Linked DNA regions of Homo sapiens: region 1 is linked to region 2. The links are contacts of gene promoters, found by promoter capture Hi-C in blood cells and fetal thymus (Javierre and others, 2016). All regions are on one chromosome and are shown on one strand. The core of a region is centred on a gene start or on the middle of the fragment in contact, and the rest is flanking DNA. Distances in the headings are between cores, read along the strand shown.

What was found. Contacts are between HindIII fragments. The CHiCAGO score rates a contact against its expected background, and 5 or more counts as called.
Region 1: a contact is called between a fragment that was not itself captured here and the fragment with the promoter of CLUL1 in region 2, in 1 of 17 cell types (total CD4 T cells). The highest score is 6.2, in total CD4 T cells.

Annotation. Positions count from the first base shown.
Region 1 is chr18:2,547,174-2,550,143 of GRCh38, reverse strand. It overlaps METTL4 (methyltransferase 4, N6-adenosine), which reads left to right. Exons shown (of 9, transcript NM_022840.5): 6 at 2,615-2,789. Among named protein-coding and RNA genes, the nearest start is that of METTL4, 23 kb to the left of the region's middle. The HindIII fragment of the contact is 1,217 bases long and covers 932-2,148 here.
Region 2 is chr18:595,158-598,255 of GRCh38, reverse strand. It overlaps CLUL1 (clusterin like 1), which reads right to left and starts at 1,268. Exons shown (of 10, transcript NM_001393344.1): 1 at 1,127-1,268. RefSeq lists an enhancer at 288-787 and silencers at 1,210-1,329, 1,390-1,519. The HindIII fragment of the contact is 7,229 bases long and covers 1-3,098 here.

The DNA of each region.
Region 1 (2,970 bases), core at 291-2,790, 2.0 Mb before region 2:
TAGCAAAATTAGTTCCTTCATCACTTCGATTATGAGAAATACTAGTCTGCGGGAAGAGCACTTGTTTCGATGGCAGGAAACTTGGGTGCTTGAGATCTGAATTCTTTTGCTTATTTATTTATTTATTTTTATTTTATTTTATTTTTTTTGAGACAGAGTTTCGCTGTTGTCGCCCAGGCTGGAGTGCAATGGTATGATTTCGGCTCATTGAAACCTTCACCTCCTGGGTTCAGGTGATTCTTCTGCCTTAGCCTCCTGAGTAGCTGGGATTACAGGTGTCTGCCACCACACCCGGCTAATTTTTTTTTTTTTTTTTTTTTTTTTAGTAGAGATGGGGTTTCACTATGTTGGCCAGGCTAGTCTCAAACTTCTGTCCTCAGGTGATACACTTGCCTCGGCCTCCCAAAGTGTTGGGATTACAGACATAAGCCACCACACCCAGCCCTATTTGTTTTAAGAAATACTTATTGATTGTCCCTGACATACAGTTGTCACATGCTAGAGCTGGATTCCAATGTTTGTTGCATTTGGCCATTAGGAAGTCATTTACTTTTTTCAGAGTAGGCATAGTGGTAAAAGTCTCATTGGAGTCAACTAAGGAATAAAATAAAGGAGATAAAGTAGGATTTGCATACAAGTCCTTAGCTTAGTTGTAGATAGAAGGTGATGGAATTGAGGGAATTTCTCTTCTGTATTCTCTGTCCTCTTCTTTCTCCTCTCCTCCCCTCCACACCTTTTCCTCTCCTCTTCTTACTCTCTCCTCCCTCTCTCCTCCTTTTCTCATCTTCTTTTCAAATGAGATAGGATAATCATATTTGTAGGTTGATGGTAAAGAACTACTAGAGAAGTTGAAAATAGAGAAGGAGGGGATAATTGGTATTACAAGATACTAGCATATGGGACTAAGAGAATACAACCGGAGGGATAAGCTTTAATAGGTGAAATCATGCCATTTCCTTTAAGAGGAAATGTATGGAAATAGATAAGTAAAGGTATATAAAGGAGAGGGGTTAGGGTTGGGTAGTTGAGGGAGGTTGGCGGCCTTTAGTTTTACTGATGTATGAGTTAACTTTACCTGCTAAGAGAGAGTTTGGTCAAGGGATCTGAAGAGTGGTGAGGGTTTGTGGTACTTGACCAAGGATGAGTAAAAGAATTGATGAGTACTTTAAGATCCTGATAATGGATTTTATAAACTTTTAATACCCAGTTCTTCCGCATTTTCTTCATCTGATTTTCCCTATACAAACAAGTGGAATAAAATTGTGATACTGATTTAAGATGGGAGGTTTGCAGGAACTGTGAGGTTGAAGGGTAAAGGGAGGATGGGAACTGAGAGTGCTAGTGAGAAGACAATGAAACGATTGGCGGTCCACGGGGAAGAAGAGCAAGTGTAATCAGGAATAAGCTGCTAGATAAGCTCAAAGAGTAGGTGAGGCATAGCATGTTATTGCCAGAGATTGATGTTTATGGTTTCAGAGAAGGAGCAAGTGTGAGTGATGACAGGGTCCAGGTTATGGCATTGGAGTGGATTATGGAAGTGGGATGAAGGCAGTTGTATTTGTTTAGGTGAAGAATAGTTGAAGTATATACATTATATGGATTGTGCTTTGAAATTGTTCAGAATAGTGGCCAGTTTTGTGTTGGTGAGGTAGTGGGATCTCAGAGCTTAAGTCCTTATTGAATATGTTGAGGATGAAATGGATTCAGTGAGGAACAGTAGAGGTTAACATAGCTGGATAGCATACCTCTCAAAGAGAACAGGGTTTTTTTTTGCAAAGGTGGATGAGTTATAGCCTAGAAGCAGCAATGGGGGAGCCAGGAGAATAATGACTTCTCCCCTTCCACTGAATGTTGGAGAAGGGGCCATATTCATTTGATTGAGTATTGTAGAGCAAGTAGTATTTTTGCAGGACAAACTAGCCATTATACTCTATGGCCAGGAGGTACAAGATTATAGATTTTGTTTTACAAAATGAAAATATGAGGGCTTTAGAGAACCCAGTGGAATTGACTGAGAAGGCAAAAAGCAAGATGATAGATTAGGGGTTGCAAATGCAGTGGGGTGGAGATGAGGATAGGTGAGATGACTCCCTGTGAAGGAGTCAGCATTTTGTGCAGGGTTTGAGGATTCTAGGGCTAGGAGAAGCTTCATTGGAATAGATTGGCTTTAGCATTACCAATTTTGCAACACTGATTTGGTGCCAGGTAAGGCTTGTATGGTTTGACTTAGGTTATTGAGAGACTCGTTTCAAGACTCACTGTGACAGGGCTCCTGTGTAACGTAGAGTATGGGATCTAAACAACAATATTTGCTTAATTTTGAATTGGAGAAAAAAATATTGTTAATAGTAAAATTACTGAAATGTAATGCATTTAGAAGTGACTAAAAAAAAATACAGCCTGACGATTTTAAACTAGTTAAAAAAAAGGTGATTTTTGTCTTGTGTGTAATAATATGTCCACTGGGTGTCACTGTGGCTTTATATTTTGCTACACAAATAAATAGCAGTAAGAGCTTTGCATTTGTGGAGTCTGTGTTATGCATGTCTTATCCCTGCTTAGTTTTCTTCTTTTGCAGTGAATTTTGCTCATCCTTTTTTCCGTTTATTTTTAGGTACAGTTATTTGTCACCCCTGCAAATACAGCAAATACCTATCCCTAAATTGGCTGCTCCAAACTGTCTTCTTGTTACTTGGGTGACCAATAGACAGAAGCACCTACGTTTTATAAAGGAAGAACTTTATCCCTCTTGGTCTGTGGAGGTAGTTGCTGAGTGGCACTGGGTAAAAGTAAGTTCAGAAGTTAGCTTATTTGTTAATACAGCTTGATAGAAGTCACATAAAGGTAGCATCTACTTTGTAATGCTCAACATGTCACTGCTGTACTCCTTCAACATGGGCTAATTCAGACTTTTGCTTTGCTGCTTACCACTTTTATATTTTTATTCTCAAGGCTATATTTTTTTTGTAT
Region 2 (3,098 bases), core at 19-2,518:
GCATTCATTTCCCATGGTAGTTCATCATTCTCTATTTATGGCATTTTTATTAGGTAACAGTATCTCATCTCTTCCCGATAATTGTGCTGCTGCATATTTTTAGAAACTTTTCCACCCGCCATTGTCAGGGACTGAGGAGTTGCATTAATGTTGAGTTTGAAAATTCTGTTCTTGCATCAGGCAGGTAAAAGTGGCCTTATTAGTATTTCTGTTTTCAATGTCTGGAGAAAAGTCCCAGGGAGAGAAAAACAAGATAAAGCATCATGTTGTCCACTGGTAAAATCTGTACGTGGAAAGTAGGCTAAGCTAGAGTAATCGGTTTAAGGTAGCAGTTAATAGTGTCTGCAGCTCTTTACTTCGTTAACCTCAGTTAACCAGGACCTGGCACAATGGGGATTGAAATCAGGGGGCTTATCCACAGTTTCCTCAAATACTGATTTTATCAAGTTGGGCTGATAATTCCATAAACTGTATGAGCATTGATAGTTAGATGTGATCGTTTTCAGAGTGATTCTTTTTCTGCTTGGGTTTATTTATTTATTTATTTTGAGACAGAATCTCACTGTGTTGTCCAGGCTGGAGTGCAGTGGCGCAATCTCGGCTCACTGCAACCTCCGCCTCCCGGGTTCAAGCGATTCTCCTGCCTCAGCCTCCCAAGTAGATGGGATTACAAGCATGCACCACCACAATCGACTAATTTTTGTGTTTCACCATGCCGGCCAGGCTGGCCTCCAACTCCTGACCTCAAGTGATCGGCCCCCCTCGGCCTCCCAAAGTGTTGAGATTACAGGCGTGAGCCACCACACCCGGCTCCGCTTAGTTTTTGCCAGTAGTTTTGCAGGGATGGTGTGTCTCCCCGCCTCTACCTCCTCCTCCTGTTTTGAAAAAGAGAATAAACGTATTGGAACAGCCCAGGAGATTGCCTGAGTTTTGCTGGCAGCCTCTGAAGCAGCCCACAGTATTTCTACCTTCCCCGGCAAGAACAGTGGCTTTGTTCTGTCCGCGCCGGAGGGGCCGGGCGTCTGCGGAGCTCGGCCTTGGACTTGGGAGCGGCTTTCTCTGGCTCTCCGGAGAAATGGGCAAGAGCGGCGAGGAGAGAAATCTGGGGCCCGGAGGATGTTCTCACCTGTCATTCCTAAGATGCGCTTGAGTGCTGCCCCCTGGAGGCGTCTGTGCCACCGGCTGGAAGTCAGCCGAGGGCACAGGGTGTCAGCAACCTCCAGGGTGGAAACCAACCCCGCGGCCCGGGCCTGCAGGTGACGCAGGGTGGGCGGGGCCTGCAGACGCCGGGTGGGCGGGGCCTGCAGGTGACGCCGGGTGGGCGGGGCCTGCAGACGCCGGGTGGGCGGGGCCTGCAGGTGACGCCGGGTGGGCGGGGCCTGCAGACGCCGGGTGGGCGGGGCCTGCAGGTGACGCCGGGTGGGCGGGGCCTGCAGACGCCGGGTGGGCGGGACCTGCAGGTGACGCCGGGTGGGCGGGGCCTGCAGAGGACCTGCGCGTCCGGATCTGAAGCGAGCAGAGCCCTCTCTACTCCAGCTGAACGGTGATGGTCGTCAGGAAGGAATGTGGGCTCACTGTGGAAAGAACATTCAGTTTTTCAAAAGAAGACAGAAATAGGGATGCTTATGTGAAATTCCTGATTTTTCAAACTTGGCAACTTAATTCAGTTAAAAAAAAAAAAGCATTTCTATGGCAGGACCACGAGTCATAGGTAGAACGCCTTGTACACATTAGAAAGAGAGCCTCGCTCTGGGCAGATAAAGCAGGAGGGGAAAAAAGTAGTGGGTCAAAGGTGCCTCTGAGCAGTTGCTCCCCTGCCCGACTGCTGGGCTTAATGCGATGGTCATGGCTGGATGTCAGCCTCCCTGTGGGGACACTGACACAGCTGCAGCAGCCCTGAGAGAGTCGCCAAGTGGGCCTGCCCATGCCAGGTGCTGTCCTTGGGCCCCAGGTTCACAAACTCTGGATGCTGGAACAGGTAGCCAGAGAGGGCAGGAAAGGCAGTGCAACTTGCAAGTCTACCCTTGTTAAAGGGCCCTACAATTGTAAAATTTCATGCCCCCCATATCCCAAACATCCTCTCCGTATTCCTGGATGATGAACGTTGGCTTGGGAGGCATGTTTACTCTAGGCAATATTTTTCTGAGGTTATTATACTCTGTGTGTGAGGAAGATTCATCTATGTATCCACTTTATCTTTTGGGAGTACATTTCACCTGTTGTTATTTTTAACATCTTCCCTTGATTGACCTGCTCGTGCTGGACCTCTTTAAATTATTTCTAATTCTGACAACATCCTGACAAGGTAATATAATTCCACTTACTTTACAAATAAAGACACTGAGGCTTCAAGAAGTAATTTTTCCCCAGACCAGCTAGGAAATGGCTGTGCAGAGCTTCAAACCCAGGTCTGTCTTACTAGGAGGCTGATGACTTTGATACTTCTACCTGAGATGGCAAAGTCTGTGTCTCTTCTCCCTGACGTCATCTAATGAAGATCTATGCTGTCTGAGCACTTAATGCCTAAGAATCTTCCATTTGGTGCCTTCCCCTTTCCCCTTTTTATATCTTTATAAATTTAACAACAGCTCTTTTGTATAGCAAAGAATGCATCTTTGTGGCACATAACTTTAAAAATAATAACATCACCAGATGCACACATCCAAATGAGTGTGGGTTGCCTTGATGATTAGAGACGTATTCCAGTGAGGCTGTTGCCAGTCACCGTCTTTCTTGTGCTTCTTTTTTAAAGAAGTACCTTCAAAGCCAGTTTACAAAACATTCAAAGAAAGTAGCCTTCTCATTTAGGTGGCATTTACTGTTTTAAATCACGAACGAAAATATCCAGCTTCCCCAGCCGCTCTTTTCATCAGATTTGACCTCAAACAACTTCAGGCTAATTCAAAAAATGAAGCCCAGTCTCCATGGAGAAAGACTTGCCTCTGGAGAATGTTCAGAGGAATGTACTGGAGGTTTTTTGGTTGCCACCAAAATCGTAGTTCCAAAAATGTTCTGAGCCCAGTAGCACCATTGGTTAAGTATGTAACCTTTGAAGGGGACACATTTATTGACTGGGCAATTATCCCCTTAATTTACAG